4 separate regions of the Homo sapiens genome follow, and regions 1, 2 and 4 are each linked to region 3. Evidence: promoter capture Hi-C in 16 types of primary human blood cells and fetal thymus (Javierre and others, 2016). All regions are on one chromosome and are shown on one strand. Each heading gives the region's core, a stretch centred on a gene start or on the middle of the fragment in contact. The rest is flanking DNA. Distances are from core to core; before and after follow the strand shown.

What was found. Contacts are between HindIII fragments. The CHiCAGO score rates a contact against its expected background, and 5 or more counts as called.
Region 1: a contact is called between a fragment that was not itself captured here and the fragment with the promoter of ALKBH3 in region 3, in 4 of 17 cell types (M2 macrophages, neutrophils, monocytes and 1 more). The highest score is 9.4, in M2 macrophages.
Region 2: a contact is called between a fragment that was not itself captured here and the fragment with the promoter of ALKBH3 in region 3, in 2 of 17 cell types (neutrophils and erythroblasts). The highest score is 11.9, in neutrophils.
Region 4: a fragment that was not itself captured here is called in contact with the fragment with the promoter of ALKBH3 in region 3 in 2 of 17 cell types (neutrophils and total B cells); the score reaches 7.5 in neutrophils.

What each region holds. Positions count from the first base shown.
Region 1 is chr11:43,500,079-43,502,813 of GRCh38, forward strand. No RefSeq gene overlaps it. Among named protein-coding and RNA genes, the nearest start is that of MIR670, 58 kb to the right of the region's middle. The HindIII fragment of the contact is 1,526 bases long and covers 691-2,216 here.
Region 2 is chr11:43,561,630-43,564,346 of GRCh38, forward strand. It overlaps a transcript of HSD17B12 not described here. Among named protein-coding and RNA genes, the nearest start is that of MIR670, 3.3 kb to the left of the region's middle. The HindIII fragment of the contact is 2,889 bases long and covers 4-2,717 here.
Region 3 is chr11:43,879,469-43,882,198 of GRCh38, forward strand. It overlaps ALKBH3 (alkB homolog 3, alpha-ketoglutarate dependent dioxygenase), which reads left to right and starts at 1,363. Exons shown (of 10, transcript NM_139178.4): 1 at 1,363-1,711. LOC105376644 (a long non-coding RNA gene) reads right to left here and starts at 1,269. Exons shown (of 3, transcript XR_001748200.2): 1 at 1,214-1,269. RefSeq lists an enhancer at 1,149-1,348. The HindIII fragment of the contact is 7,136 bases long and covers 1-1,817 here.
Region 4 is chr11:43,370,505-43,373,204 of GRCh38, forward strand. The region is part of intron 1 of TTC17 (tetratricopeptide repeat domain 17); the gene reads left to right. Among named protein-coding and RNA genes, the nearest start is that of TTC17, 13 kb to the left of the region's middle. The HindIII fragment of the contact is 2,804 bases long and covers 14-2,700 here.

The DNA.
Region 1 (2,735 bases), core at 204-2,703, 380 kb before region 3:
GTTAACTGACCCAACAATACCCTAGAGAAACTATAGCAACATTGAAGGTAAGAGATTGCAAATAGGAGCTAATGAAACAGAGAGGGAAAACTAAATCAGGGAGAACTCCAGCAGATAGGCAGAGAAGCTGCTTCACTTAATCTACAGAGGTACTCCCTGTCCTCTCAGCCCATCCCCTAGCCACTCACTGCTACTGACCCATGTAAAGTATTTTGAACAGGGACAGGAACACACTAGGCAGCCAATAAATGTTAGCTCTTCTTATTAGCAGAGGACTTGAATCCTGCCACTAACTCCCTAATTCTAGAAATAAGTTACCTTTTCCTTTCTGCTAAGAATTTTGTTCCAGGCTAGGCACAGTGGCTCATGCCTGTAATCCCAGCACTTTGGGGGACTGAGATGGGAGGATAGCTTGAGACCAGGAGCTCAAGATCATCCTGGGTGACACAGCAGGACCCTGTCTCTTAGAAAAAAAAAAAAGAAAAAGTTAGCCAAGTGTGGTGGCACACACTTGTAGTCCTGCCTACTCAGGAGGCTGAAATGGTTGAATTGCTTGAGCCCAGGAATTCAAGGTTACAGTAAGTTTTGATTATGCCACAGAACTCCAACCCTGGACTGAGACCCTGTCTCAAAACAAAAACAAAAACAAAAACAAATGGATTTGGTTCCATTTCTGGATTCTGACTCAAAAGCTTGAATGGTTAGGACAGTGACCCCGGCTTTTAAGAAGGGGGGCTTTCACCCAAAGACAGCACTTAATACAAACACCTATTTCCTAAAAATAGAGGAAATTTTTCTTTATCTTTCTGTTTTTCAGTTTGATGGATTTCTTCAATTCTGTCTTCTGATTCATTGACTTTCTCTTCAGCTGTGTCTAGCCTGCTGTTCAACTCATCCGTTGAGACTTTTACTTCAGTAATGACATTTTTCACTTGCATGATTTCTACCTGGTTCCTTTTCATCATTTCTATCTGCTCATGTTTCATAATCTTTTTTTGTGTTATGGGTGCTACTCTTAACTACTTGAACACTTTCAGCATACTTACTTTTCAATTTGGTCAATTATTTCTTGTTCATTATGAGTAAGTTCTCCTGTTTGTTGGATATTTGGACTGTCTGACCCTATAGCCTTGTAACCCTCTGAGTTCTCAGTCTTTGGATCACTACTCTAAAAACTGCAATTACTTTTGCACCAGCCTAATATATTCTCTCATGTTCTTAGTGATATCATCTGGTCACATGGTTTCAAATACTATCTCCATGCTTATGACCTTCCAATTTATATGTCCAGCATAATGTCCTCTATCAGCTCTAAATTCATTTATCCAACTTTCTGCTCAGTATCTTCACATGGACTGTACAAAACAGAATTCCATATCTTCTCACAAAATTATTATCTAACTTTGGTCTTCCCATATGAGTTAGCAACTCCCTCCATCTAGTTATTCAGATCAAAAAAAAAATCCTAGGCCGGGCACTGTGTGTTATTCCTGTAATCCCAGCACTTTGGGAAACTGAGGCAGGCGGATCACTTGAGGTCAGAAGCTCAAGAACAGCCTGGCCAACATAGTAAAACCCTGTCTCTACTAAAAAAAAAGTACGAAAATTAGCCAGGCATGGTGGCACATGCCTGTAGTCCCAGCTACTCAGGAGGCTAAGGCAGGAGAATCTTTTGAACCTGGGAGATGGAGGTTGCAGTGAGCTGAGATCACGCCACTGCACTCCAGCCTGGGTGACAGAGCGAGACTGTCTCAAAAAAAAAAGAAAAAATCCCAGAGTAACTATTGATTGACTCCTGTTAAAACATAAGTCAGGTCGTGTCATTCCTCTGCTTAAAACTATTGGCTTGCAATAACATATAAAACCCTATTCCACAATGTGGCTCACCTCTCTAGCTTCATCTCTTTTAATGTCCCTCTTGCTCACTCCTCCAGCCACACTGACCTCCTGGCTGTGTTTTGAAACTTCCAGTCATGCTTATGCCTCAGGTCATCTTCATTTGCCATTCCCTTAGCTTGAAATACTCTTTCCCCAGATAGCCACTTTGCTCACCTTCTCTGTGAGGTTTCCCTAATCATGATATTTTAAATTGTGACATCCTCCTCCACAATTTCCTAATCCCCTTTTATGCTTTACTTCTCTTTGTAGCTCTTATCATTATCAAGTCTGCTGTGTATGTTACTTATATATTGTCTGTCACCCCCAACTTGAACATAAGCTTTAAGAATGCAAGATTTGGACCTATTTTGTACCCTGATATATCTCTAGCCCCAGGTACATAGTAGGTATCCAGAAAAAACTGCTGAATGAATGAATGACTGAATCCATACATAAGTAGTGCTGAACTTCCTCATATATTTTATATTTTTTGTCCTTATTCAGCAGCAGTTAATGCTTGAAGTATTTTCACACATTATGTGGGGTCAAGGACATTTCCCTACAGAGAAGTTTCTGAGGTTGTCTTTGCTGCATCCCCTACAAAGTCGAACTTTTTTTTTTTTTTTTTTGAGACAGAGTCTCACTCTGTCATCCAGGCTAGAGTGCAGTGGCACAGCTCACTGCAACCTCCGCCTCCCGGGTACAAGCGACTCGCCTGCCTCAGCCTCCCAAGTAGAGTAACTGGGACTACAGGCACGTGCCACCATGCCTGGCTAATATTTTTGTTTTGTTTCATTTTGTTTTGTAGTGACAGGGTTTTACCATGTTGCCCAGGCTGGTCTCGAACTCCTGACCTC
Region 2 (2,717 bases), core at 198-2,697, 320 kb before region 3:
TCAAGCTTAATATAGCTTTCCTTTCTAGCCTGTTCCTTCAAGTGACACAAACACCCTTTTTTTTTGAGAAATATTTAGCTTGGTCTAGGCTACTGACAGTACCTAGAAAGAAAAAGAAAAAGAATTATTCTTGCTTATTATTTTATAAAACCTTTACTAGACTTGGAGACTGCTGCAGCGACAGTCCAGTTAGTGGACTGGAAGACCAATCAATGAATAATGATTGACTGTTTACAAATGAGCCTAGCACGGTGCTTGACCCATGGTGGGTGTTTAATAAATGTTAGCTGACTCAGAGTATGTCTCATTATTGTGGCACTATGTTATAGTGAAAGAGCTATGAATTTGGCATCAAACCACATAGGTTCAAGCAACCATGTGGATGTATGCTCTTGGGCAAATTATTTCGCTTCTTCGTAAACTGCTTATCATACCTAAACAATGGGAGTATTCACATTATAATAGCTACCCCACACAGTTATTTTGAGAATGAAATCAGAAGTGAGTTGGCTCATTTTAAAGCACTCTAGATAAGTAAGTGATACATGTGTTTCTGTAATATGTGTGTGCACAAAGGCAGATATTAAAAATTTTTTTAAATCCTGCCTTTTTCTCTTTCCCATCTCACTCAGCAATAGGAGTAGGCATAGGTCTCTGATAGGCTGGATGGCATCCTGAGTACAGTGTAACTGTGGATAGTTTAGGCTTTGCAGCCAAGAAGGCGTGCATTCAAATCTTTCTTAGCTCTTATATGTGGTTGGTTATGTGACTTTTGATAAGTTATTTAAACTCTCTAAGCCTCAGTTTCTTGACATTTAAAATGGGGACCTACCTCAAAAAGTTATTGTGACGATTCATTGAGTTGATATTTGCAAGGCTTGGCTCAGTGCCTGGCACATACCAAATGTCTATCACTTTTATTTTTTATTATTATTTTAGCTATTATACCTCTGGACCAGGGAAGCATCAGAAAAATGACTTGGGAACATCTTATGAGGCATGGTGTGGGATGGCATTTCTACCATATGCTTTTTCTTGCTTGGGTAGATTCTTCCTTTTCTGAAATTAGCAGAGACCTCTTAGACTCTTCCACATACACAAGGTAAAGTCTATCTTCCCTATACTTTACTGAAAGCCATTGGCCCTACCAAGCAAGGGACAGGCCTAGGCAACTTCCCTGGAGCTTTCACTTCAACTAGGAACTCAACTCTTTTGTCCCAGAAGTTCCCAACTTCAGGTAAGGAGAAAGGGACTCAGTCAATGCATAGCACAGATCTGGACCTCAAGTGTGGGTGGGAGAAGATCATCTGCATTTGACTCACAGAAGCCTAGAGGGAAGACTTGAGTCTTCCCTCAGCTGAAGTAGATGTTCCAAGTCCTCCTTGAATGCTGTGAGAGCCCCTCAGTGATTCTCTGGAGGCAGGTATCACTATCTACTCCTCACCCAGGTCTTGTATTGCCATGACTTCATCTCCTAGTGGAGGACAGAAGAAAGTAATCCCTTACCTAGCCCCTACGGACTTATTAAAATTGGGAACTCAACACGAACTTCTGTATGGCCCATTATGGAAGGCCATACACTAGATTCTCAGGATCCAGTGATAACTAAAACATGGATGCTGCTTGCCATTGTAGCACTCGTAGTCCAGAGATGAGAGAGGCTTTTAAAAGTCCACATTCTCCTTTGGGTAGGACCCTTACCAATCCTGGGTTGTTATGCAATGATAAAGCCCTCGCCTGAACAATAAGCCACCATAGGCTTCTGTTTCCTATTCCAAATTTATCTGCTCAGTGTCCCATTCTGTTAAGAATTCTTTCACCCATGAGTTGATGTGAATGTGTTAATTGGTGTGGAAGTACCAGTCGTGAAAGAACAAGTTCCATCTATTAAGATCCATATTTTGGCCAGATGCAGTGGCTCACCACTGTAATCCTAGCACCTTGGGAGGCCAAGGTGGGAGGATCGCTTGAGCCCAGGAGTTCGAGACCAGCCTGAGCAACAAGGCAAGAACTCATCTCTACTAAATTTTTTTTTCTAATTAGCCAGGCATGGTGGTACATGCCTGTAGACCCAGCTACTCTGGAGGCTGAGGCAGGAGGATGGCTTGAGCCTGGGAATTCGAGCTTGCAGTGAGCTATGATCGTGCCACTGCACTCCAACATGGGTGACAGAGCAAGATCCTGTCTTTAAAAAATAAGATCCAGAGAGTTTTAGTCCCAGTGGTCATTAGTAATATTTAGTGAGAAGAACAGCCTTCTTTTATGTTTTACTGCAATACATTCTTTTTTTTTCTTTTTTTTTAGAGATGAGGTCTTGCTCTGTCACCCAGGCTGGCATGCAATGGCACAATCATCGCTCACTACAGCCTCGAAAGATAGGTGCACGCCACCATGCCTGGCTATTTTTATTTTTTGCTATGTTGTCCAGGCTATTCTCAAGCTCCTAGACTGAAGTGATCCTCCTGCCTTGGCCTCCCAAAGTGCTGGGATTACAAGTGTGCACCACCGTGCCTGGCCCAATTCATTCCATTAGGAGCCCATGGGCTGATTATTTTAGAGTGTATGGGTCCTAGAACTATAGGACTTACCCTGACCACCACATCTTGAGTATTAATAACCAGAGAGCCAGAGAAGACCTGCTCTGCAGGGAGTAGCCTCATCCTAGCCTCAGGTCTGGGGCAGGATTGAGGATTCCAATTCACTACAAAGGTTATTTG
Region 3 (2,730 bases), core at 113-2,612:
ATCACTTGGGTGCTTGTTAAAAACGCAGGTGATTCTGTTAAACAAAAAAAAAGCAGTAATTTCAGATGCAAGTAAATCATGGATTGATCTTTGAGAAATACACTACGTAGAGGCTGAAGAGGTGTCAATCACTACTTTTAGGAACTCCTCAATCCAGACTTCTTTGTTCCTGTTCCAAAACTATAATCATTGAAAAGAAAGAAATAACATATTTTAGAAGATACAGCCAAAGTTCCTGAGCCAGAAGCAGACATTGACAAATTAGTTGATGGGGGAAAAAAACTGTAGTGTGGCCTTAGCATTTTCTCTCCTTTCAGGTCTAGGATAAATCATTTTTTTCCTTCAGTGTCACAAAGTATAACAAATAATAATGAGTGCTGTGAAAATGGATTTGATAGTAGCAACAATATAGGTACACATTGATGAGGTGTACCTATAATGAGCTTCCTGAAGGTAAACACTCATATCAGGCTTATTTTAAAGATTTCCACAGTGACTATACTTTGGCGGATCTTAGAGAATGACTTGCATAAAACAGTCAATTCAGTGCTACTTTTGCTATTTTCATACTGTAAAGTACATGGTTTAACATGACCATTTTAAAGATGTTTCTCATGAGCTCAAATGGGGTGAGCTCTTTTTCATTTTTTGAGTTTTTGTTGTGTTCCAGGCATTGTGCTATATTCTTTAAATGCATTATCTCACTTAATCCTCCCAAAAAGAGCGATACCCATTTTAAAAAGAGGCAGAGTACTTGCCCTAGATTATACAACTAGTAAGTGGTGGTGTCTGGGCCAAAATGTAGGTCTGTTCACTCAAGCAAATTTGCTTAGCACTGGAGAGAGCCAAGGTGAATTAAGGCGTGGTCCTACGCCCTGCTGTAAATGCTGTGTTCGGAGGTGTGCACAGGCTGCAATAGGAACACAAAGGAGGCTCATTTCAGGCTCTCCGTGGTTTTTAGGATAAAATGCAAATCCTTTTGCCTAACACATTATAACCAGGTCCCCCAAACTCCTCTCCCTTTATCTAGTCCCACAGGGACCCGGTCACTCTTTCTGCCACAAAGATGCCGATGCTTGGACATCTCCAGTTTCGAGGAACTCACGTAGGAGACACGCCTTCACTTCCACCTTTGCCAAACCCCGACCCCTTCACACCGCTCCCCTGCACTCTCAATCCCTGTCCGCTGCAACACATATCCCCTCATCAGCACCTTCGGTGATTAGGCCCTCCAGGCGCGGGGGATGTGGGACTACCCGGACTGAGGACTGCGCACCGGAAGTAGTGGCGGCGCTGCGTAACGTCGAGAGGAAGTGCCTGATGCCGCGGCCTGTGATTGGGAGTTGCTGGAGTCGGTGCTTCACTCTTAAGGTTCCGATCACAGACTGCGGAGTGGGTCAGGGGCTGCGAGGGCTGCCCCAAGTCCTACCGGGTTTGCACGGGCGCGCCCGGCTCCGCCCGCAAGTGCGCCTTCCTGACTTACTGCTGGGTGCGCGGGGCTGGGGGTGCGAGTACCACCCCTGAAGTCTCTTCCTGGGCGACCTCCGGGGCCTCATTCTAGGCCTCCTTAAAGAGAAGGATCTAAATTAGGAAAAGGAAGTGCCCTTATCCACGACCAAGCTCTTCCACCTGCGGAGCTCGCTTAGTCTGCACCTCAACCGTGCGGAAAGTGACTGCCCTGTTTACTGAGGAAAAACTGGGGCTCAGAAAGGTGAAGTCATTTGCCATGGGCCATGCAGCTGGGAAGTGACAGATCTGGATTCAAAGCGAGTTCTGGCTGGCGCCAGAGTCCTTGTATTTTACAGCACTGGTTCTCAAGCTTTATGTGCATTAAGAATTCCTGGGTTGAGGGTGGCGTTAGTTAACAAATTCTGGGACTCTACAAATTGAGTAGATCTGGGATGGGGCTCTGGAATCTATTTTCAACAATTGTTCCCTGGCAAATAACATATGGCTCCCCAGTGAATGGAGCAAGAAGGTGAGCAAGTCGTATCCTCTGCGGGGACTGTAGGTAATTGTGTTACGCTTTTAGGGCCTCAATTGAGAGAACATGTCAAACGGGAGCTCCTGGGATTGGAGAATTGGTATTTGATTGTCATTAACTCTTCTGGGCAGATGGCAGCCTCTGCGTCTCTCCACCTATTAAATGAAATGAATTACATGCTTATCATCTGGGGGAACTTGTTAAACACACAGATTCCTGGGCCTGGCTCAGCTCTACTGAATCAGAAGAGGTGGGAGATGGGACCTGGGAATCTATAGTCTAAGCAAGCTATTAATATAAAACGAGCTTTTACCTTTGAGAACTTGAGGTGTGAAGCTTTCTTAGGTAGAAGCATAAAGAAATAGATTACAGATGTGGAACATGTGGCTTGAATTTCCTTGTTGTTTTGGTAGCTGTACGTGCTTCTGCATTTGCTGTAGGCTAAGCTTTTACTGGTACAACTGTCAAATTAGTATTATTAGCCATTATGAGGTGGATTTATCCGTTAGCTGGAGACAGGAGTTTAATATAAGTTGAATGTTAATCTGTCTGTTGTTGATTTCCTGAGTGGCTTTGGGTGCATCATTGAACTTTACCGTCCACATACATACCTGCATTGTGTCAAATCTTACACTGCTTGTTATAAAGACAAATACCTGTATCCATCCTAAATCAGATTTTCTGAAGGTGGGCCATAGGTATTTTGAACAAACTTCCAGGGAAGTTTGATGCAGCCAGTGATAATG
Region 4 (2,700 bases), core at 166-2,665, 510 kb before region 3:
TTCCTCAGACCTAAGCTTATATTTGTCATTACAGTTTGTTTAAGGAAAAAAAAAAAAAGATAAAACATGTTACGTAGTGTTCTAAAGTTTCAGTGTTAACAAACAAGATGACCTGTGGATAGCACATTAAAAAAAAAGAACACTTTATAAATTTAAATAATACATGTTCACTGTAGAAAAAGTTAGAAAACACAAACAAGAAGAGAATAATCACGTAAAGTCATATCAACTAGAAACCATATTCTTAAAATATGATATATAAACTGTCAGATAGTTAAAGAGAGGGGGCAGGTTTGTTTGTTTGTTTGTTTGTTTGTTTGTTTTAAGATGGAGTCTCTGTTGTCCAGTCTGCAGTGCAGTGGCACGATCATGGCTCGTTGCAGCCTCAAACTCCTCAAGTGGTTCTCCCACCTCAGTCTCTCAAGTAGCTAAAACAGGCATGTGCCACCACACCCAGCTACTTCTAAAAACTGTTTTTGTAGAGATGGGGTTTTGCTATGTTGTTCGGGGAGGGGAGGTGGGGGGGGGGGTCTTGAACTTATCTCAGGTGATCTTTCTTTGTCCTCCCAAAGTGCTAAGATTACAGGTGTGAACCATCACACACAGGTGAGATTTTTTATAAGTACATTGTGAATGGAAAAAACATCTCAGTTTCTCCCACTGTTCTCTTACAACATGTTTCTGACACCACCAAGCAAGCAGTCAGTTCTGCAGCTGCCACAGGCTAGGTGGCTTCCAATTCAGTTCTGACATTGTCTACCTGGCAGTGGCATCAGATCCTACAGGTCAAGAGCTCAGTGCCACAAGACTCCTCCCACCCAATTCAGTCCCAGCCTCTTCTAACCAACCAGCTTCAAGTTGGGGCTCCCATAGCTGCCTCTTTGGGTTCAATTAATTTGCCAGAGTGGCTCACAGAACTCAAGGAAACTTACTTATGTTTACTGGTTTATTATATTAGAAAAGACACAGATGAAGAGATGCACAGGGTGACGTATGGGGCAAAGGGTGTAGAACTTCCATGCCCTCTCCAGGAACTTCCACATGTTTGGCTCTCCGGAATCTCCTGAACCCAGTCCTTTTGGGGTTTTATGGAGGCTTTATTACATGGGCATGATTGGCCTTTGGTGGTCAACTTAACCTTCAGCCCCTCTTCTCTCACCAGAGGTTAAGGGGTGGGGCTGAAAGTCCTAATCATGCCTTAGTCTTTCCAGGGACCTGCCCTGATCCTGAAACTACCTAGGAGCTGCCAGCCATCAGTCAACTCACTACTGTACAAAAAGACAGCACTTTGGAGATTCTAAGGATTTTAGGAGTTGTATGCCAAGAAAAGGTGGGTGGGGTGGAAGACCAAATATATATTTTACAATATCACATACACAAAAGAAATACATATGGCCAAGGAAGAGACTGAAATGTATTCATGGCCTGACGCAGCAGCTCACCTGTAGTCCCAGTTACTCCGGAGGCTGAGGTGGGAGGATTGCTTGAGCACAGGAATTCAAGGTTACGGTGAACTATGATCACACCAGTCCACTCTAGCCTTGGTGACAGAGCAAGACCCTATCTCTTTAAACAAAAAAGAAAGAAAAAATGTATATATTCACCCTTTTTTCTGCATTCCTAAGGATGTGTAGGAACTCAGTCACTGTTGTTAGGAATTTAAGTTGATTCAACTGTTCTGGAGAAAAGCTAGCAAAAACTGTAAATTTACAAATGCAAAAAAATAGTATAGTTCCTTTAACCTAACGGTTTTCTTTCTGTTACAGGAAAGAAATAATCTGATAGCTGTCTAAAAAGGTTCATGGGTTTTTTTTTTTGAGAAGGAGCCACTCTTGTCGCCCAGGCTGGAGTGCAGTGGCATGATCTCCTTTCACTGCAACTTCCACTTCCTGGCTTCAAGCTATTCTCCTGCCTCAGCCTCCCGAGTAGCTGGGATTACAGGTACCTACCACCACATCCAGCTAACTTATTTTTATTTTTTATTTATTTATTTATTTATTTATTTATTTATTTTTGAGACAGAGTTTCACTCTTACTGACCAGGCTGGAGTGCCTGGCTCACTGCAACCTCCACCTCCCGGATTCAAGCGATTCTCCTGCCTCAGCCTCCCAAGTAGCTGGGATTATAAGCATGTGCCACTACGCCTGGCTAATTTTTGTAATTTTAATAGAGATGGGGTTTCACCATGTTAGACAGGCTAGTCTTGAACTCCTGACCTTAGGTGATCCACCCGCCTCAGCCTGCCAAAGTGCTGGGATTACAGGTGTGAGCCACTGCGCCCAGCCAAAAGTTTTAGTATAGGATGTTCATTGTAATATTGTTAAAAAGGGAGAATAACCAAAAACCTGAATTTTAGTTAGGAACCTGGGTAAATAATATTAACCACTAAAAATATTGACATAGGTCTGTATTTACTGGGAAGTCTGACAAAATGTACAGAGGAATAGAGAGAGGAAGGAAATAATATAGTAGATATATTATTATCGTATTTTTGTGAAAATATTTACCTACAAAGCTCTGTGTTTGTGTATGTATGTAGAAGTTATCCTGACATGATATATATCTAACAGCAGATATCTCTGAAAGTGAAATTTCAAGTAATTTTTATTTTCTCCTTCATATTGTCTATATGGTACTGTGTTTGTTTTTACAGTAAAATATATTTAGTTTATAATTCTAAAAAAGATTTTCTTAGTATT